Linked DNA regions of Homo sapiens: all the other regions are linked to region 2. The links are contacts of gene promoters, found by promoter capture Hi-C in blood cells and fetal thymus (Javierre and others, 2016). All regions are on one chromosome and are shown on one strand. The core of a region is centred on a gene start or on the middle of the fragment in contact, and the rest is flanking DNA. Distances in the headings are between cores, read along the strand shown.

Evidence for each region. The method cuts DNA at HindIII sites, captures the fragments that hold promoters and counts their contacts. A CHiCAGO score of 5 or more calls a contact.
Region 1: a fragment that was not itself captured here is called in contact with the fragment with the promoter of MYOT in region 2 in 1 of 17 cell types (M1 macrophages); the score reaches 5.5 in M1 macrophages.
Region 3: a contact is called between a fragment that was not itself captured here and the fragment with the promoter of MYOT in region 2, in 1 of 17 cell types (M2 macrophages). The highest score is 5.3, in M2 macrophages.
Region 4: a contact is called between a fragment that was not itself captured here and the fragment with the promoter of MYOT in region 2, in 1 of 17 cell types (M1 macrophages). The highest score is 5.6, in M1 macrophages.
Region 5: a fragment that was not itself captured here is called in contact with the fragment with the promoter of MYOT in region 2 in 2 of 17 cell types (total B cells and naive B cells); the score reaches 5.8 in total B cells.
Region 6: a fragment that was not itself captured here is called in contact with the fragment with the promoter of MYOT in region 2 in 1 of 17 cell types (total B cells); the score reaches 5.1 in total B cells.

What each region holds. Positions count from the first base shown.
Region 1 is chr5:137,797,707-137,801,504 of GRCh38, reverse strand. It overlaps the pseudogene NPY6R. Among named protein-coding and RNA genes, the nearest start is that of HNRNPA0, 45 kb to the right of the region's middle. The HindIII fragment of the contact is 175 bases long and covers 1,789-1,963 here.
Region 2 is chr5:137,866,226-137,869,583 of GRCh38, reverse strand. MYOT (myotilin) reads right to left here and starts at 1,724. Exons shown (of 10, transcript NM_006790.3): 1 at 1,631-1,724. All of the region lies in intron 2 of PKD2L2-DT (PKD2L2 divergent transcript), which reads left to right. The HindIII fragment of the contact is 5,979 bases long and covers 1-2,831 here.
Region 3 is chr5:137,781,693-137,785,117 of GRCh38, reverse strand. No RefSeq gene overlaps it. Among named protein-coding and RNA genes, the nearest start is that of HNRNPA0, 29 kb to the right of the region's middle. The HindIII fragment of the contact is 982 bases long and covers 1,377-2,358 here.
Region 4 is chr5:137,759,286-137,763,014 of GRCh38, reverse strand. No RefSeq gene overlaps it. Among named protein-coding and RNA genes, the nearest start is that of HNRNPA0, 6.8 kb to the right of the region's middle. The HindIII fragment of the contact is 157 bases long and covers 2,328-2,484 here.
Region 5 is chr5:137,987,871-137,991,381 of GRCh38, reverse strand. FAM13B (family with sequence similarity 13 member B) reads left to right here. Exons shown (of 24, transcript NM_001385994.1): 8 at 3,067-3,108. Among named protein-coding and RNA genes, the nearest start is that of FAM13B-AS1, 43 kb to the left of the region's middle. The HindIII fragment of the contact is 1,871 bases long and covers 1,024-2,894 here.
Region 6 is chr5:137,959,450-137,962,999 of GRCh38, reverse strand. FAM13B (family with sequence similarity 13 member B) reads left to right here. Exons shown (of 24, transcript NM_001385994.1): 11 at 531-595; 12 at 2,786-2,834; 13 at 3,237-3,384. Among named protein-coding and RNA genes, the nearest start is that of FAM13B-AS1, 72 kb to the left of the region's middle. The HindIII fragment of the contact is 747 bases long and covers 1,152-1,898 here.

The sequences.
Region 1 (3,798 bases), core at 627-3,126, 68 kb after region 2:
ATTTGCAATATTTTTCTTAAGCATTTTAGAGGTTTGTTTCCCATTTTCTTACCTGTCGGAAATGTCTAGCTCTTTTGCTATTCTCATCTTCTGTTGTTTTCTTTCTTCATTTCCATTATTATAATTTTTTAAAGTTTATCTGTCAAGGATGACATGTTAGCCTTCTCTCAAAAAGTCATAACATCCCCCGTTCCTTCTTGGATTATTTATCCACCAGACAATCTGTAGCTTCACTTCAGACACTGATCCCTGGAGTTGGAATCATTGCACAGAGGATTGAGCTTTGGAATCCAGTGGGCACTGAAGGTCACTGAAGAGCCGGAAGGGAGGAGTCAGAAATCTCAGCAGCAGTGACATGAGGTGGAGCTGTTTAAAAGATATTTTCAAAATGTCACTTTCAGTCATCTTGTAGAGATGATAATAAGAGTGCCTCTTGAAAATCTGTGGCATTTTCTGGCATATATATATGTATATATATATATATATATTTTTTTTTTAAATTAGCACGGCCAAAATCAGACATTTAACTTAAATATTCCTGGAAAATTATTAGTAAACATTAATGGTTGTTCTTAGAGCATTTACTGTTAGTTAAGAGATGGACACATAGAGGGCAGCAGCACACACTGGGGCCTTTCAGAGGGTAGTGGGTAGGAGGAGGGACAGGATCAGGAAAAATAACTAATGGGTACTAGGCTTAATATCTGGGTGATGAAATAATCTGTACAAAAAACGCCCATGACACCAGTTTACCTATGTAACAAACCTGCACTTGCACCCCTGAACTTAAAAGTTTAAAAAAAGAGATGGTGCTATTCCAGATTTTGCAGTAATTTATAAGATTAATGAAGATACTTTTGAAATTGAAATTAATGCCAAGTTTCTGAGCAAGTATGTATTATAAATATAAGATTTTTATCAACTACTTTGGAGCTGACAACAGCTGAGCTGCTTATAGACTATAGATGAAAGTGGGGACTAAAAAGCGCTTTTCCTGTATTTGAAAAATTATTACAAGAAGGGGCCTACTTCTCATTTATAAAAGACTCAAAAAGTAAGATTTATATTAAATATAAGAAATATTTCCTTATAGTGAGTGTTTGAAGACTTTAGAAAACAAGGTTGTAGAAGATTGAGTATGGTTGAAAATATTTGTGGCATGGTCTAGTGGATGAGCACACAACATTTTCAAATACTACATTTCCTAAGCCAAGGACTCAGTGATAGAACCCTACATTTTAGGGCCAGGCTGTGTGATTCAATCCTGTTTCCCTACCCAAATACATCAAACTACCCTAAAGAAACTCAAAATTTCCAGGCAGTCAACAACATTGACATTGTGTGTCTGTGTTTTATAGAATCCTGCTGGGTCACTGGCTGGGGGGACTTGCAGGTAGAGTAGGAGTGGGATGTGTACTATGGACGTGAAGCCAATCTCCTCCTCTGTAAGAACCTGAAGAGCAGATACTATCAAAGCAGTTCAGTGGCTTGTATTTCTTTCCCCAGTCAACTTTTAGCAATGTCCCATTACTTATTTACCTGTTTGTATTTAAAATACAGAGAGTAGCAAACTTTGGAAGATTGTAGGGCTATTGGAAAGTACCTTTTCCATATATAGAGTATTGGCAAAAGCTAGTGGTGCCACAGGTTTGGTGGATATTAAGAGATCATTTTAGTTATCTGTGATCATGATGATTTTGAGAGTCAGCTTGAGTGGGAGAGAGCTAGGTCTGAATTTGGATTCTCCAGCATTACCTAGCTGGGTGATCTTGAGCTTCTCTCTAAGCTTTTATTTTTATTTTATTTTATTTTTTGCCATCCAGTTCTACCCCAAAAGGAGGAAGCAATAGATCTTCCTTTAATAACTTCCCAAAGTGTTACAAATAATAAAAACAAGCATAAAGCATCGCTGGGGTGGCTGAACGCGGAGCAGGGAAGGATTTGCTCCTCTGCTCTCTAAGCTTTTGATTCCTTTCCTATAAGGTGAATATAGCCACCTATCCTGCAGGATTATTTTGAAGATTAATGATAGAACATAGTAGATATTCAATAGATAGTAGTTATTACTGTTGCTGTTGTTTAGAATTTCGCTTAGTAGAAACATAAAATTTGAGTTAATAACAGAGTTTATTGTTTATTATTCTAAAGGAAGTCTGTAATGAGTGTGGGAAATTGAGAAATGACAAAACCAGAGTCATTTTTAAAAAAACTTTTAAGGGGATGTTTGGTGTAAATCTGTGTTCTGAGGTGAGGGGTCCACTGTTGTTAACATTTTTGCTCACCTAGGTACACATAGAGAGCTATTATAATCTGATGTAAACAAACGATGAGGAGCTAACACACAATGTCCATTTATTTTTTTTCCTTTTCAAAGACACTTCTTTGTCATCAAGGTTGGGTGTGCTTAGGAATTAAGGTATATATATAAAGGGAAGCCTACTGATTAATACTTCTGTTTTCTCCAGAATCACCAGGAAATACATTAATGCCTTCAAGAAAGATTAAATGGGAAAAAGGAATGTTTGGATGGAAAGACCGAATATTATAAAGATTTTGTTTCTTCCCAAGTTAAATTGTAGATATAATTCAATTTCAATGAAAATCCCAAGAGAGGTTATAAAAAATTACTTATAAAGTATTTGTAAGTGAAAATAGCTTTGAAAAATGGAATAATTAAAATGAAAAGCATGATTAACAACACCAAATATTTTAAAATATTATAAAGTGTGAATAATTAAATCAACGTAATGCTGGGCCAAGAATTAGCAGACAGATCAAGGAATGGAATAGACAGAAATAGACCCTGGTATATATAACGTGTTAATATATGACAGTGAAAGCAGTAAGGATTGCTTTTTTTTTTTTTTTGAGATGGGGTCTCACTCTGTCACTGAGGCTGGAGTGCAGTGGTGTGATCTCAGCTCACTGCAACCTCTGCCTCCTGGGTTCAAGCAGTTCTCCTGCCTCAGCCTCCTGAGTAGCTGGGACTACAGATATGTGCCACCACACCCAGCTAATTTTTGTATTTTTTGTAGAGATGGGGTTTTTCCATGCTGCCCAGGCTGGTCTCGAACTCCTGGCCTCAAGTGATCTGCCCACTTCTGCCTCCCAAAATGCTGGGATTACAGGCGTGAGCCACCGTTCCCAGCCAGCAGTAAGGATTTCTAGGGAAGGAAAGAATTATTAAGTAACTGTTGCTGGAATAGTTAACTAGCTGCTTAGAAAAAATATTAATTTAGTTTCGTACTATACACTAGAATAAATCCCAGGTGAAAGAATTTGAGAAAACAGACTCAAAAAAATATTAGTAGACAATATAAGAAAATACAGAAAATAGGTGGCTCACACCTGTAATCCCAGCACTTTGGGAGGCTGAGGAGGGCGGATCACCTGAGGTCCCAAGTTTGAGACCAACCTGGCCAACATGGTAAAACTTCATCTCTACAAAAAATACAAAAATTAACCAGGTATAGTGGTATGTGCCTATACTCCCAGCTACTCAGGAGGCTGAGGCAGGAGAATTGCTTGAACTCGGGAGGCGGAGGTTGCAGTGAGCCAAGATCACGCCACTGCACTTTTGGGGTCAAGTGATCCTCCTGCCTCAGCCTCCTGAGTAGCTGGGACTACTGGCATGCACCACCTTGCCTATTTCATTTTTAAATTTTTATTTGTGGAGGGAGGTTCTTGCCATGTTGGCCAGGCTGGTCTCAAACTCTTGGTCTCAAGCAGTCCTCCCGAATTGGCCTCCTGAGGCACTGGCATTACAGGTGTATGAGCCATCTTGCCTGGCCAAATGGA
Region 2 (3,358 bases), core at 475-2,974:
CATAGAAGTAAATAAGACACATATGAAACTAGTCTATACCTTACCAAGAAAAGACAGGTGCCATTCCTCCTACTTAGCTCTGTAGTGGGCCTCCTGCCTTCCTACAGTACATCCTCATTTTTTCTCAGATGAAACATTTGCCATGAAAATCAACCTTGAAGGATTATATTTGTCTCTGATTTTTTTTCCATTAGTATGGTAAACCTAAGCGGGACTATATATAGACATTACACACAAAGACTAGTCCTATAAATTGTTTTCACACTAATCCTGTTTTCATTGAAAATATCAGATAAATTGATTCAAAATACATTTGCCTATTTTGTTTCATCTGGTATAAGCCAATACTGAGATAATGACAAATCAAACTTTTAACTGAAAAATTAACCAAATTGTTTGTCATCATTGAAACGAAGTCTTCTAATTATTTTAGTTACTGTCTTGGATAAAATGTTAATAAAACTTTTCCAGACCAAAGAGTTTCATCCTAAATAATAGGATACCTTCAAAAAATAGTATTTCAAAGTTGCCTATGTAGTTTAGAGTTAAATTAAAACTAGCAATTTTAGGAAAAAACAGAAATGCAACTAAACAGCCAAGAGAAAGACGCTATTGAGAAAGAATACTTAAAAAGTTAAATATTCCTTAATTTCAAGTTTATGAACACAAATACATTAAACTAGAATGCATTTTAGAAATGAACTACTTTAGGCATTTAAATTGTTGGGGAAAAACATCCTGAAGGAGGGCCTTGAGTAGATCTAAAAAAAAAGTCTATTTCAAGGCAAGTAGTTTTGTAGTTATCGGTTTATTCAGTCTGTTGCAGAATTGAATCCAGAGTTTGATTCCTAAATTTCTTTCTGGGCAGGTACATTATTGAGACTCATTTCAGATAGCAAGGAATAAACCGCTTATGAAATAGTAGATATTTTCCAGAAACAGTTCTCTTTTTTTCTTTACATATATTTTCAGAATGGCAACTGTCTTGTACATGTTGATATTGGCCTACATTGTTAATAATTAGTGATATTTTTAAAAGCCCAATTAAAAATATGTTATTTCATAAGTTTCATTTTATCCATGTGTCAAAATTTTATGCAGACATTTACGCAGGTGATCCTGTATTTTCTTTATGTTTGTAGTTACTGTTCAACAATTTAATTCTATAATAGATTCTGTTATATGACAGGGTCATTTTATTCCAAATAATGTTAAATGAATTTCAAAGATTTTTATAAATAAAGTACTATTCAGTCTCCTTTTTAAAAAATCTTAACATTTTTTTCCTGTCTCTAATATAGCATAGACTTGCACAGAAGACTGATAGAGGATATGTTGCGTTCATAAGACATCACCACAATTACATCAGATCAAGTGTCCCTTTTCAAGGAAAAATGGTGATTTAAAAATAATGACACACAGCTATCTTTCCTTCTATCATTTGTATAATGCCTTCCAGTCTCAATGAAATGAATGAGTCGCTTTCTCTTTAAATTTTTGTGTAATACCATTATAATGTTGTGGCTTTCAAACTTTTTATCTGAAAATCATCTTTGTATACACTCATCTGATTTGGACAAAAAACAAAAACAAGACCTAAAAGTGTAGTAGGAATAAAGAAGGGACTTACCCGTAGTTCCAGAGGGTGCCAGCTGGGTTTAACCCACTATTGAAGGGAAGGAAGAGGCATCTCCTTCCCTCACAGACTAATCTAGTGGCTCTGTGCTTAGTATTATAGCACCACTGACTTTTATCAGCTGCCAAACAGTGACATCTGATGTGCTTGCCTGTCCATCTACCTATGCTGGCATGTCAAAGTAAGAGTCCACAATCTAAACAATATCTCACGTGTCTTAGTGGTATTTAAGGAGTGGGATTACATGAGCTTCTTTTGCAAGCCTCTTTATTTCAGACGTGAATTTTGACTATGAACTTTAGCAAGCTCATGTGAGGGAAGGGCAGTGAATAGGGAAATGGGAAAAATAGAAAAAAAACCCTCTTATTTCTTTATTATGGTGGGGACTTTGAATTTTCCCAGTTTAAGAGAGAGGACTAAAGGGAAAATAATATTTCAAGAGTGGAGTTCTTCTATCTATTATACTAAGACTTCTCCAGGAATAAGACCAGTGATAGATGGGCTCCCAATTGATTTGTATTGCATAATTCTTCATCTGAAGTCTTTTTTCTTTTGCCTAATGAGAGTAGGATTCAATAATAGATTTGAGGTCTCTCAGTACTAGCAGTTTGTTCCGAGGTGGAGGGCAGTCTGGGCAAAGCAGGAGACCGAGGTCATAGTGACATGTCACTGGGAAGGTAGGGAGGTGGAAAAACATGATGGTGTTTCTTGAGCAAGTTTTCTGAATCTGTATGGCATATGCCCCTTTTGCCTAGTACTTTTATTCTGAAAGAGTTTTGAAACACTTAAGAAACAACCAAACAAATAAGCAATCTATATAATTAGAGCTGTCAATGCATGTTCATCTCCCTTTATTCCTAACAGTTAGTTTCCTTTCACTTTTTGTCACAGAGACCATCATGGTATTTAGATTTCCATTTTTGTGCAGGGAAGTAAATAATTGCAGAAGAATAAAATGTCGAATCAGCAAATGTGGTGAAGTAGGGTAGGTGGCATGAGGATTGGGCCAAGGGAGTAGAATTATCTCCATGGGGTGGCTTCAGTTCCCCTCCCTCATGGGTAGATACCCCAATCTTGATTGAATTAACATGTATATTAGAATCCAGCAAATAGATGTTTGAGCACATATGAGCCATATAAAATCCTTCACAGCTGGCCAAGTAGGTGTACCTTTCTTTGGTGTTCAAAGAAAGCTTGATAATTTCTGCCTGGGCGTGCAGCCCTTAGTAGAAAAAGCATGCTAGACTTGGTGAGTAGGTGGTTGCCTACAAAGTCTTATTTCAGGAGTCTCCCAAAATATTCTTCAACATCTGTTCACTGATATTTCAAATTCCAGTAATACAGACAAAACCTTTCCATCTAAATTAGAGAGACTTAAAATACAAATGCAAGTGATAGGATAAAAGTAATAATAGCCAATATATAGCATTTATTATGAGTAAGACACTCCTTCAAGCATTTTATTTTATTATTAGTTTTTTTTTAGAGACAGGGTCTTACTCTGTCACCCAGGCTGGAGTGCAGTGATATGATCAGAACTCACTGCAGCCTCAAACTCCTGGGCTCAAGAGATCCTTCCTCTGCAGACTTTCAAGTAGCTAGGGCTATAGGCATGCAGCACTATACCCAGCTAATTTTAAAATTTTTTGGACAGACAGAGTTTCGCTATGTTGCCCAAGCTGGTCTCAAACTCCTTGCCTCAAGCGATCCTCCACGTCGGCT
Region 3 (3,425 bases), core at 618-3,117, 85 kb after region 2:
TTTAGCATGTTTACATTTAAGGTTAATATTGTTATGTGTAAATTTGATCTGGTCATTATCATGCTAGCTGGTTATTTTGCCCGTTAGTTGATGCAGTTTCTTCATAGTGTTGATGGTCTTTACGATTTGGTATGTTTTTGCAGTGGCTGGTACCAGTTGTTCCTTTCCGTGTTTAGTGCTTCCTTCAGGAGCTCTTGTAAGGCAGGCCTGGTGGTGACAAAATCTCTCAGCATTTGCTTGTCTGTAAAGGATTTCATTTCTCCTTTGCTTACAAAGCTTAGTTTGGCTGAATATGAAATTCTGGGTTGAAATTTCTTTTCTTCAAGAATGTTGAATATTGGCCTCCACTCTCTTCCGGCTTATAGGGTTTCTGTAGAGAGATCCGCTGTTAGTCTGATGGGCTTCCCTTTGTGGGTAAACCGACCTTTCTCTCTGGCTGCCCTTAACATTTTTTCCTTCATTTCAACCTTGGTGAATCTGATGATTATGTGTCTTGGGGTTGCTCTTCTCGAGGAGTATCTTTGTGGTATTCTCTCTATTTCCTGAATTTGAATGCTGGCCTATCTTGCTAGGTTGGGGAAATTCTCCTGGATAATATCCTGCAGAGTGTTTTCCAACTTGGTTCCATTCTCCCTGTCACTTTCAGGTACACCAATCAAATGTAGATTTGGTCTTTTCACGTAGTCCCATGTTTCTTGGAGGCTTTGTTTGTTCCTTTTTATTCTTTTTTCTCTAATCTTGTCTTCTCACTTTATTTCATTAAGTTGATCTTTAATCTCCGATATCCTTTCTTCCTTGATTGATTGGGCTGTTGATACTTGTGTAGGCTTCACGAAGTTCTCGGGCTGTGTTTTTCAGCTACGTCAGGTAATTTATGTTCTTCTCTAAGCTGTTTATTCTAGTTAGCAATTCCTCTAACCTTTTTTCAAGGTTCTTAGCTTCCTTGCACTGGGTTAGAACATGCTCCTTTAGCTCAGAGGAGTTTGTTATTACCCACTTTCTGAAGCCTACTTCTGTGAATTCGTCGAACTCTTTTCTCTGTCCAGTTTTCTTCCCTTGCTGGTGAGGAGTTGTGATCCTTTGGAGGAAAAGAGTTGTTCTGGTTTTTGGAATTTTCAGCCTTTTTGTGCTGTTTTTTCCCCATCTTTGTGGATTTATCTAACTTTGGTCTTTGATGTTGGTGACCTTTGGATGGGGTCTCTGAGTGGACGTGCTCTTCCTTTCCGTTTGTTAATTTTTCTTCTAACAGTCAGGCCCCTCTGTTGCAGTTCTGCTAGAGTTTGCTGGAAGTCCACTCCAGACCTTGTTTGCCTGGCTATCACCAGCAGAGGCTGCAGAACAGCAAAGATTGCTGCCTGTTCTTTCCTCTGGAAGCTTCGTCCCAGAGGGGCACCTGCCAGTTGCCAGCCAGAGCTCTCCTGTATGAGGTGTCTGTCAGCTCCTACTGGGAGGTATCTCCCAGTCAGGATACACGGGTGTCAGGGACCCACTTGAGGAGGCAGTCTGACCCTTAGCAGAGCTCGAACGCTGTGCTGGGAGGTCTGCTGCTCTCTTCAGAGCCATCAGGCAGGGATGTTTAAGTTTGCTGAGGCTGCGCCCACAGCCACCTCTTCCCCCAGGTGCTCTGTCCCAGGGAGACGCTGGTTTTATCTATAAGTCCCTGACTTGGGATGCTGCCTTTTTTTCAGAGATGCCCTGCTCAGAGAGGAGAAATCTGGCAGTCGGGCCACAGTGGCCTTGCTGAGCTGCCTGAGACAATTGTTCTTGGCTACAAGGATCAATAACAAGAGTGGTACTAGTCAAAGGTTGCACAGGCAGTTGCTGGGCAGATGTCCTCACAAAAGTATTTTTTTGTGTATAAGTTTGTGATGGCCTTTGTGCAAAGTTGTGGTTTTTTTCAGGGTCTTTTGTAATAGTTCTTGTTATCAGGCACTGTGCGTGAGAACCCTCTTTTCATGGGCTTCCCTGGCTCTTGACAGAGGCTTTAACACATGTGACTTCATTTGATTCTGACAACTTTCACAGTTCTTGGGTACTTCATGTATGTTATGCTAGCATAGTTGGTATTTTTGAGTTTTTTTATTTTTTGATTCTAATGTGTAGAAATACAACTGATTTTGCAAATTTGTGTCATCTTGCTAAAATGTCTCAGTAATTTAGTAATTTATCCTTAGATACTCTTAAATTTTTCACATTCGTGATCCTATCATCTACAAATAATGATAGTTTTGTTTCTCTTTCCAATTCCTATTCTTGTTTTGTTTTTTTTTCATATACTTGCCTTACTAGGCTGGCTAGGCCCTCTAGTACACTGTTAAATAAAAGTGGTGTTAACAGGCATTATTTAAAGGCAAAGCTTTAAACATCTCACTGTACTTGTAGTAAATATTACACTTAATGTCCTCACAGAAGTATTTTTGTTTGTATAAGATTTTGATGGCCTTTGTGCAAGGTTGTGGTTTTTTCAGAGTCTTTTGTGATAGTTCCTGTTGTCAGGCATTGTGCATGAATATTTATTTATAGTGTTTCAGACTAAGAAAATTATCTTTTTTTTCCCAGTTCATTAAGAGTCTTTAAAAAATATTGAATATTTGTTTTTATCAAATACACTTTCAATCATTATTAGGTTGTTCATGTTTCTTCTTCTATTCTGTTATTGTAGGTAACAGTATTAATTGATTTTCTTCTCCTAAATCAACTTTGTATTATTTAGACAAACCCATGTTTTATCCTTTTTAAATATTATCCCTTTTTATCCTTTTTCTATATTGCTATTTTCTGTGTGCTAATATTTTGTTTAGGAAATTTGCATTTATGATTTTTAGTCAGCTTACCTGTAAGTTCCCTTTTTCTTACTGTCCTTAGTGGAGTTTTTTTTTTTTTTTTTTGAGATGGAGTCTTGCTCTGTCACCCAGGCTGGAGTGCAGTGGTGTGATCTCGGCTTACTGCAACCTCTGCCTTCTGAATTCAAGTTATTCTCCTGCCTCAGCCTCGTGAGTAGCTGGGATTACAGGTGTGCCTTACCATGCCTGGCTAATTTTTGTATTTTTAGTAGAGACAGGGTCTCGCCATGTTGGCCAGGCTGATCTCGAACCCTGGCCCCAAGTGACTCCCAAAGTGCTGGGATTACTGGTGTGAGCCACCACACCGGGCCTCCTTAGTGGATTTTGATATCAGAGTTATGATAGCATCATCGAACGAGTTAGAGAAAATACTCCCTTTTTCTGTTTTCTGAAAGGGTTTGTATTATTGGTCTCATTTCTCCCTTGAATGTTCATAGAACTTGCTGGTAGAGTCTGGGCCTATAGTTTTCCTTTTGGGAAGATTTTTGGGAAAAACTGAATGCTTGTAGGGTGAATTAGTTACTATTGGCTTCATTTGGTAATTTACAGCAATAAAGAGATGAGCTCAAAAAAGAATTGGCT
Region 4 (3,729 bases), core at 1,157-3,656, 110 kb after region 2:
CACCCAGGCTGGAGTGCAGTGGCGTGACCTCGGCTCACTGCAAGCTCCACCTCCCGGGTTCACGCCATTCTCCTGCCTCAGCCTCCCGAGTAGCTGGGACTACAGGTGCCTGCCCCACGACTGGCTAATTTTTTGTATTTTTCAGTAGAGACGGGGTTTCACCATGTTAGCCAGGATGGTCTCGATCTCTTGACCTTGTGATCTGCCCGCCTCGGCCTCCCAAAGTACTGGGATTACAGGCGTGAGCCACTGCGCCTGGCCCTCCTTCAACATTTCCTTCCATCTGGAGGAGACAAATACAATTCCCTCTTCTAAAAGCCTAGATTTTGCTCTTGAGGCAAGGGAATATACAGGAGAAGAACAAGGTACAATTAACATCACTACAAAATGAATAGGTCTGTTCATTTTCTCACCTCAGGAGAGACCCTTTTAAAGACAATCTTCCTCTTGGGTTTTTTTTTTTTCTCCACAAAAAGCATTTTATTAAAGAGAGAGAGGCAAGTGCCTTTGCATGAAAAAAGGTGGAAGGAACCCCAGTAATGTTGACATTTTTGCCATTCTGACAAGTATGGGGTTCAAATTAAGTCAGACTTAATTTGATTTGATAAAATAAATAGTGTGACTTTTTATACATCATCTTGATGTTATGAGATTTATATCTAAATGCAAGTCATGACTTTTTCCTCTGTAATATCAATTTAAGTACTTCATAATATAGTATTCTTACCTGGAGCACTTAATTGATTCTCTATTTATTAGACAGCTATTTTGGGACAATTAGGTCATTTCCAACTTTTTTTCTAGTATAAACAAATTAAAATAAATATCTTTATAGCTAAATCCTTGTATAGGTCCTGAATTATTTCGCTGTGATAAATTTCTGGAAGTGTAATTGCTGGTTCAAAAGAATGGGCCAAATTTAAAAGCTTTTGATATGAGTTGTTAGGGTCCACTAGAAAAAATATACTTTCACCACAAGTGGCAAAGAATGCCCTTTTGAAATGTTCACCTTGAATAAATAAAAATGGAACCTGTACTAGTTTGCTAGTGCTGCCATAACAAAATATTACAGAATGAGTGGCTTAAACAATAGAAATTTATTTTCTCCTAGTTCTGGAGGCTGGAGGTCAAAGATGAAGTGCTGGCAGTCTGGGGTTCTTCTGAGGCCTCTCCTCCTTGGCTTGCAGATGGTCGTCCCTTTATGCACTTGTGCTCCTGTTGTCTTTCTTATGACACCAGACATATTGAAGTAGGGCCCCACCCTAATGACATCATTTTAATGTAATCACCTCTTTCGAAACCTTATCTTCAATTATGGTTACATTTGGAGGTACTGGGAGTTATGGCTTGAATATATGAATTTGAGCGTGGGGACCAGGGGTGCACAATTTAGTCCATAGCAGAATCCTAACTGTAAAACAAACATGGATCCAATAAAAAGCTAATTTTAAAAAATCACAGTTGCTGCTTTCTGGAAATATAGCTGGCCATAGTCTTTCCTTTCTTTCTCAGTTCATTCTTTCTCTGTCTACGTATAATTTAATATTAAAACACACTCTTTTTAGTGTGTGGTTCTATGACTTGTGTAACCATCACATTCCATTAGCTTTTTGTAATCAAGCTTGCAGGAGGGATGGAAGCCAAAGGCAGTCTAAATTTCAGTTTTATTTTTAAGTGTTTTATTTTGGAAGGCTTAGACACCTGTAAGCGAGTTAAAGAAACAAAGTAAACTCAGGCAGTGATCTAAAAGGCAAAGTAGAAAAAAATAGTTTTTCCTCCTTAATGACGTAGAGTAGGAAATTGACTGCATCATTTAAGTGTTTACATAATACTCCTTTTATTGACTGTCCCTACCTTTACTGATCTAATCTCCAAAAAGAATCTAACATTCTGGCCTGGTGTGGTGACTCATGCCTGTAATCCCAGTACTTTGGGAGCCAGAGGCAGATGGATCACCTGAGGTCAGGAGTTCAAGACCAGCCTGGTCAACACGGTGAAACTCTGTCTCTAATAAATATACAAAAATTAGCTGAGAGTGGTGGCACATGCCTGTAATTCCAGCTACTCAGGAGGCTGAGGCAGGAGAATCGCTTGAACCCTGGAGGCGGAGATTGCACTGAGCTGAGATTGCACCACTGCATTCCAGCCTGGGCGTCAGACTCTTGTCTCAAAAAAACAAACAAACACAAAAAAACTTAACATTCCAGTCATACTGCATATATCCTGGCTTTCTTAATGTCTCTACAACATTCTTGTATTGTCTCTGATCATCCCTATACCCTACTGTATGTAAGGTGTCTAGACCTGACATTTACCTCTGTGAAGCTTTATTAGCCAATAGAAATGAAAACCCTAATGGATCCCCATTTAGGTGGCATAGATCAGGGGTTCCCACCTCCTGGGCCATGGACTGGTATCAGTCTATGGCCTGTTAGGAACTGGGCTGCACAGCAGGAGGTGAGCGGTGGGTGAGCGAGTGAAGCTTCATTTGTATTTACAGCTGCTCCCCATGGCTCACATTACCACCTGAGCTCCGTCTACTGTCACAGCAGCAGCGGGATTAGATTCTCATAGGGCATGAACCCTATTGTGAACTGAACATGTGAGGTATCTAGGTTGTGCACTTCTTATGAGAATCTAATGCCTGATGATCTGAGGTGGAGCTGAGGTGGTAATGCTAATGTGGGGGAGTGGCTGCAAATACAGATTAACATTAGCAGGGAGGTCTGACTGCACAGAGACCATAATAAGTCGCAGACTCATATCAAAACCCTATCAGTGAGTGGCAAGTGACAATTAAGCCGTGGCTGGCAGTAGGCTTTATAGTGGCAAGTGAATTGATGTACTTCAATTGTACAGCTACATCTGGTGGCAGGCTGTCAGAATCTGACACTTAACTTTAGTCTGAGCATGGCCTGCCCATTATTTTATTTACCACTTCCATCCGTGCCTCTTTCCCATGCTATGCACTTGTCTCAGTCATAGTTTTGGTAAGCCCACAAGCTAACCCTAGCCAAAATGAGTAAAAAACAAATGTCACTGGAGAGCTTCTTTGTCAAGGGGGACAGACTGAATGATGAGACATCAGAAGACATTAAGACTTCCATCAAAAACAAAGCTGCATTTAAAAGAAAATACCAAGAGTCCTACTTAAATTACAGGCTCATTGCAACAAGTGATTAACATTCTACAAGCCCACTTTGTATAACATGTGGCAACCGGCTATCCAACAAAGCCATGAAACCTTCAAAACTGCTTCTCCACATGGAAACCTAGCACCTTGCATTAAAACACAAGGCTTTTGAGTTTTTCAAATGAACACAAAGAACAGAAGCAACTGGCCAGGCATGGTGGCTCACACCTGTAATCCCAGCACTTTGGGAGGCTGAGGTGGGTGGATTGCTTGAGGCCAAGAGTTTGAGACCAGCCTGGTCAATATGGTGAAACTCCGTCTCTACTGAAAATACAAAAATTAGCTGGGTGTGGTGGTACGCACCTGTAGTCCCAGCTACTCGGGAGGCTGAGGCATGAGAATCACTTGAACCCAGGAGGCAGAGGTTGCAGTGAGCCAAGATTGCACCACTGCACTCCAGCCTGGGTGAAAGAGAAAGACCCTGTCTCAAAAACAAGCAAACAAAAAACCAGAAGCAATTATTGAAGGCCACCACTTCATCAAATGTATCTGCACTGAGAGCATCATTCTTAGTGGCTAACTGCATTGCTAAAGCT
Region 5 (3,511 bases), core at 710-3,209, 120 kb before region 2:
AAATGAAGCCATTTTGGTACATAGTTGCACACGTTGTTTATGCTTACACATATAAAGACAATTTCTGATATTATTTTCTAATCTTAATGAGCACCAATGATTTCACAACAGTCCATTGTATTTATCCTGGTCCATTTTATATATTCATTTGCTGATATTTCTTTCTTAAAAATAATTCTGCAAATATAGTAAAATGTTAATTATAGACTTTAAATGTTGGGGCTATAGGTGTTCTTATACAGTTTATTTTCACTTTTCTGTATTTTTGAGAAGTTTTATAATATTGGAAAAATGCTACAGAGAATACTTTATGGTATAAAATCCATCCTCCCCTTTTGTATCTAGGATAAATTGTGGTAGATTTGATAAACCCTTTTTGATAGAGTCTCAGACTTTCTGAGTCAAAGTGTGTGCACATTTTTAGAGCTCTTTGAAATGCATTACTAAATAGATTTCCATAAGAAATTTTTACTCATTAACCTTCCCACTAGCAACATGCATGCCAGTTTCATAGCCTTTGTCAATATACTATATTGACATCAGCAGAAATATATATAAATTTTATTTTAATCCTTATTTGTTTATTTTTTTTGAGATGGGGGTCTCGCTATGTTGCCCAGGGTGGCCTCAAACTCCTGGGCTCAAGTGATCCTCCTGACTCAGCCTCCTGAGTAGCTGGGACTTGAGGCATGAGCCACTGGCACCTGGCTCCTTATTTTAAACTTGTATATCTAGTTAGGTTGATTATTTTTCTTTTTGGTTATTTAATTCTTTATGAAATATCTTGTATCCATTTACCTACTAACATTTTATTGATAATCTAATCTGACAAAAAAGGGTGAGAAAATTCCTCTGGGAAAATGAGCAGATGACTAACAAGGGCAAATCTGAGAAAGAACAGAGAGGATATAAGCCCTACCAAGAATTAAAACATTATATAAAGCTTTAGTAACAGACTGATGAAGTAAGTAGTTGAGAATTAGAGAGCTTCTTCAGGATTTGGTATAAGATAAAGCAAAAGCTTACCAGAGATCACAAATTAAATGGCTAAGAGTGTTCAATTTATAGATTTTTCCCCACACCATTCAGTATGCCACATTGTCAGTGGATTATAATTAGATATTAAAAATAAAATGAATATTTCTCGATAGGCAAGGAATTATCTAAGTTTAGTAGAGATTGCAAATATTATCAAGGAAAATAAAACAGATCGCACCACATAAAGATTTAACTTTTGTAATTTAATAGCAGCTGATCACCGAAATGTAAATATGTAAGCAATAGTGTATTAGAGCAAAATATCAGAAAATGATTTAATATCCTAGTTCATGTTAAGACTCTTCAGGGAAAGCCTCATTTATCTTTTTACTTTTTGTTTTTTTTCTACAGAAATCAATAAATATTTAACTTTTAGCTCACAGGAAACCGCTAGAAATAAACTGATGATGGCTACACTCTTCTTTGTACCATGTTTTGGGGTTTTTTCCCCCCAGCTTTTTTGGATTTCAGAAATGAAGTTCCAAAAAACTTTAGTTGTTTTATTTTTCTTTCTTTTTTTTGAGACAGGGTGTCTTTCTGTCACCCAGGCAGGAGTGCAGTGGCACGACCACAGCTCACTGCAACCTCCCTGGGCTCAAGCGATCTTCCTGCCTCAGCCTCCTAAGTAGCTAGGACTACAGGCATGCACCATCATCATGCCTGGCTGATTTTTATTTTTTTTGTAGAGATGGGATCTCGCTATGTTGCCCAGGCTGGTCTTGAATTCCTGGTTTCAAGTGAACCTCCAGCTTCGGTCTCCCAAAGTGCTGGGATTACAGGCATGAACCACTACACCTAGTCAGAAAAATCTTTAAGTGTGAATATTGGTAAACACTTCCCTGGAGACGATCAGCATGAAGGCCTTTAGAACCATAAATAATCCATTCATTGGAAACTAGCATGATACTGGCAGTTAACAAAAAATATTTTTATATGTAGGAGGGGTTATGTGTGTCAGACCAAGAGGGCTTACTGTTGTTTGATAAAGCATTTGTTCACTTCGCTACTGAGAGACATGAAGATTGCTGAGTGAATGAATGGTAAATGATACTCATTTGGTTTCCTGCAGTGGATCCTGACAATACTAACTTCATAGCGTTTGTTCTGCATTTTGGTTAGAGATTGTATTGCCACATTTTGGAGGATCTTCATAAAACTAATTTACGTTTAAAAAATGACAAGGTAGCTACAGATGTGGTGTTCAGGTCAAGAAGGCAGGGTCACTCCTCCCTATGGCTAAGTGTTGGCTGTGATGATGTGCTTAGGCACACAGTGCCATTTAAACATACCTTATCTTTTATCTGATAAATGATTTTTTAAAAATTACCTGTATTCATCAATGGCTAATACTACTGTTCACCTAAATCCAGTACAACTAATTTTCCCTCCAGCTTTGGAAATAGATCAGTTTTTCTCCACCTGAGCACCAGAGAAAGTAGTTGTCCCACTCTCACCCCCACAAGTATATATATTTGGGGGTCTTTTTGTGTGAAAAATAGTTTCTTTAGAAAATTAGGTTCATCATCTGTGAGAGGTGCTCATGCTGTGGTGTGTGTTTTTGTTTTTAGTCACTTTTTTTTGTTGTAGAAGGCAGTAGAGCATCTTTGTTAATAGCAGGGGCTTTGGGGTACCCAACCCATGGCCATATGCATTTGGCCAAGTTAATTAACATCTTTGAGCTTCACTTTTGTGGAAAGGGGGAAATAATTGTAACTCCTTGGGTATTGAAAGTTATTAAATGAGAGATAAATGCATGTAATGGTCCTAGCTCATAATGAATTCTAACTTTAAAATTTTTGGTCTTGTTAGTGATACGTTTTTCCAAATTTATTTTCTTTGGTTAATATTTGAAAGCTTTACCAACCAGATTCAGAAAATATTTCCAACTTGATATGTAAACAAGAATACAACACTTAGTATGTGCTCTCCTGGTTGTGTCAAGGTAGTGCAAATATGGCAGATTTCAGCACATTTTGTAGTTATTAAGTATTGAACATTTTTATAGCTAATTTCTTTCTTTGATTGCAGCACCCATATATCTCCCATCAGCATCCTACCAGCCTCTACAGAGTAAGTAGTATATTTATAGAAGACAAATTTTTAAGATTTTAAAATACTACTAAGCTGTAGAAATGAAAATAATGTACTTGTGCTCACTTTAGAGGAAAGACTGTACACAGGCAGTAAACTAGTTTTTTATGTACTGTGATAGGAACAAATGAAGAAGAAACCCATTGCATTACTATACAAAATAAAGATGAGCTTTCTTCAGATGGTTTTTTTGAATCCTCTGAAATAATTGAAAAATGTTCATAGAATATAAGTTTTAAAAAAGTAGACTTTACATAAGAAGTGTGAGCAGTACTCATGGTTTCTTTCATTTTGCTGTTAGTAGGTTATTTTGCTTTATAAGTATAGCTTTGAAAAGCCTTATTTAGTGGTTTTCTGTGTAGTGAGGAGTGAATTATAGGGA
Region 6 (3,550 bases), core at 276-2,775, 94 kb before region 2:
GGTAGGTTTTTAGTTTGGGGGGGAATAGGGATGAGATGGTGTCACTAAGCTCGTTGGAAAATGGGAGAGTTTTCTCATGTGGGGACTTTCTTTGTGGAAAATAGTTATTACTTCAAATATACAAAGGAATCTAGTGAACTCCTCTATGACTCCTATCTTACCTACAAGAAGTCACCAAACTTGTATCTTTGTAGCTGAGGAGAAATAAAGCAAGCAGCAGTTGGCAAGCAGGATCAGAAGACCATCATTTTGGAGGAGATAATTCTAAGGAAGAAGGATGGTAGTGGTGATACATATTACCTAATAGAGAGAAATGCAGAGTACCTGCTATACTTCATATGACCCAGGTTTTGAGGGAAGATAAATTACTCTCTGTAAAAAGAGATGCTAAGTACTACAGACTATTATAAATGATAGCTAATTAGGGGTGTTTGACTAATCTGTATTCTAATATCCTAATTTAGATTGGCAACTTCTCTTATCTGAGTATTGGGAGCTCCATTAATACATGGTAGTGTTCTTTTTGTCAGTCTGTAGGTATATTGTTAGAGCCATGCAGTGACCGTGGTGATAGTGAAGATGGCTGTCTTGAGAGGTAAGCATTTTTTCTTGTTGCTAATTAATCATTTTGAGAATTGGAGCTCTTCACAGATTTTTGAGGTGATTTTTTTAGATGAATGTCCATTATAAATATATAGTTTAGATAATCTTAAACAGCCTTCTTGTTATAATGGTAGGCATAAAGGATATTAAATACCCATAAATGTTTGGATTTGTACAGGTTCAGACAGTAGTTATAACTTGGAAAACATTCAGAGGGAAAAACAGCCTTTTTGGAGACATTTAAATCTTTCAGTTGATTGTGGAACAATTGGGAATTTACTGATATTCTGAGTATACCTGTCAGTGAGTTAATTCATGATCTTGTAACTGTGTATAACTAACTGAGAGATACTGTATTTGATTCAACAAATATGTATAGGATGTTTTTCTTCCTCTTTGAATTTATCCTTGGTGTGTCTCAGTACACTCTTAGGCAGCTGGTGCTTTTTTAACCTCTTTGGCTGGCTGTAATGGTAGAGAAATACTGGAGGCAATGAGTATTTCGACTAATGTAGAGTCTCAATAGATAGCCTCTTTGAATAGAAGCTTTCTAGAATGTTTTAAATCACAGAGTAAGATTTGGGTTCTTGTTACCCTTTGCATCAGTCTTCAAGATGCTGCCAAAAAGTATAACTTTCTTAGGAAGGTGATTTGAGATTCTGAAAACACTTCAGTAATGAAGTTGCAGGCTAGATTGTAAATATTGAGAGATCCCAGACAGTATACTAATTTGCTGACAGCCTGTTGGCCAGGACATATTTGTATTCTATTGTTTCTTTTAATTATAAGTAGGAAGCCTGTTCTTTAAGGGTAAGCAAATTCTTTGGAGCCACGTCTCTGGAGCCTCCCCATACTCTGAAGGTCCACAGATTTCCTTATAGCAGTTCCTTGTCCTTCCTTTCAGGAGGCAGGAATCATCCTCTTCCAGCCCAGGAAGTATTGGAGCTATGGGCTGAAGATATAAAATTAACAACATTAACAGGCACCCCCAGAATAGTGACATCTGGATTTGGTAGAACAATAAGGACCCATTTAGTGAGGACTCTTCTGTTGTTGTTGTTGTTGTTGTTGTTGTTGTTGTTTTTGGAAAAAGCTCTCTCCTCTTCAACTTCAACTGTGTATAAGTTAGCAAACTGGTTTTTAGATCCAGAGTACCTTGGTTAGGTGGATTACATTTTGTATGTTTAACATTCATGCTTCTCAAATGTAGGTGATTAGGTCTTTTAGGCTGCTAAGGTAGTAATTACTCATCCTACCATTTGCTCCTACTCTAAGCAAAGGAATGCCTTTAAGCTTAACAGAGCATTTAGTTCATTTCTTATTCTCAGCAAGAATAAGGTAATTATCTGTATGAGAAGATGACTTGCAATATTTAGATCAAGGCATGTCTCCTGAGTGCATACTCTGTTATGGCCGGTTAGAAGTGACATCTCGATGTGTCATTGTAAATTGCCACTGTGTCTTTGGGGAAAAGAACTTTCCCCCAGTAGGCATATTGATAATCTACTGTATAATAGCAGGTGCTCTCTTGACTGGTAAAATAGGTACAGATCACTTACGACAGCTTGCTATAACACTTGTTCTAAATAAGGGTTAGTTTTTCTGGGGAAGTAAAAGGTGGACTGAAATTTTTTAAAATTTCCTTTTAGTATGTTACTGTTATATTTTGAGGAGGGAAAGGTTTGGAAGTAGTAACCTTCTCTGATTGGAAGTAGTATCCTTGTGATAGAATACAGTCAAGTTTAAAGTAAAAGACATAGTGATACCTTTTTAAAAAGTTTTCTTTGAAAGTCTCAAGAATGGAGAGAATAGAGCTGTTTATTTGGTTAAAACATTTATTTTATAAAATCTTTATTATACATTCATTCTTTTGGGTTTCTACTTACTGTGGATTTTAGTTTTCATTTTATAAAGGTTTTTCTTTTTTGCTGTGGTTTGTGGGGTGGAGTAGGGATTGTTACTTGATTTTTCTAAACCCGAAGTGATTCTGTGGATCTTTTCAGTATTGTGTGATTTTTCAGATATAGGGCTCCAAAGAATGGGCATGTGTCCAGTTGGCATTTTCTCCTCGCACATTGTAAATGCTAACTGTGTTATGGAGTAGAGGAATCTAGGTAAGAAATATATAATGATAGTAGCCTTTTTATTCTTAATATACTAACAACTTTACTTGTATTTTTAGGGAAGAATATTTGTTATTTGACAGTGATAAATTGTCACACTTGATTCTGGTAAGAACTATTTTTTTGTCTTAGTCTTTAAAAACTTGCCTAGGTTTAAACTGTTATGTCTGGTCTTTAATGTGGGTTAGCTAGGTTTAAAGATTTAAATATAAATACTCTTACCAAATATTTTACAGTTAAACAGCAACTTAATTTGCCACTTTTGGTTACAAGAGACTTGGTTGTGAAAACACTTTCCTGAATTTGGGATCCAAACTTGTCTTCCAATAAGACATATTCTAAAACTGCATGTTTATATTTGAAAATAGTTTGCACAGTGGGAGTGGGACAGTTGGCTGTATAGGCACAGTAAACTAATGAAGACTACACTTGGATATGTGCTGGATGTGTTTAAGCTGGGTGTGAAAAGCTTCCGTAGTTGTGAAATATATTCTTTATTTTAAAATACAGGATTCTAGTAGCAAGATATGTGATTTGAATGCCAACACTGAATCAGAAGTACCAGGAGGTCAGAGTGTTGGTGTTCAAGGGGAAGCAGCGTGTGTCAGTATTCCACATTTAGATCTGAAGAATGTTTCTGATGGTGATAAATGGGAAGGTAATTTTACCCACACGCATTATTTTCCTGATAATGTTACTTGTAACCGAAATTACCCTAAGCAATGATAAGACTACAGCCCTTTTCTGGATAACCTTATTCATCTTGATCTTCTGTTCTCCCTTTCATGTAAGATGAACAAGTGGGTGTTTTTAGTGAAACACAC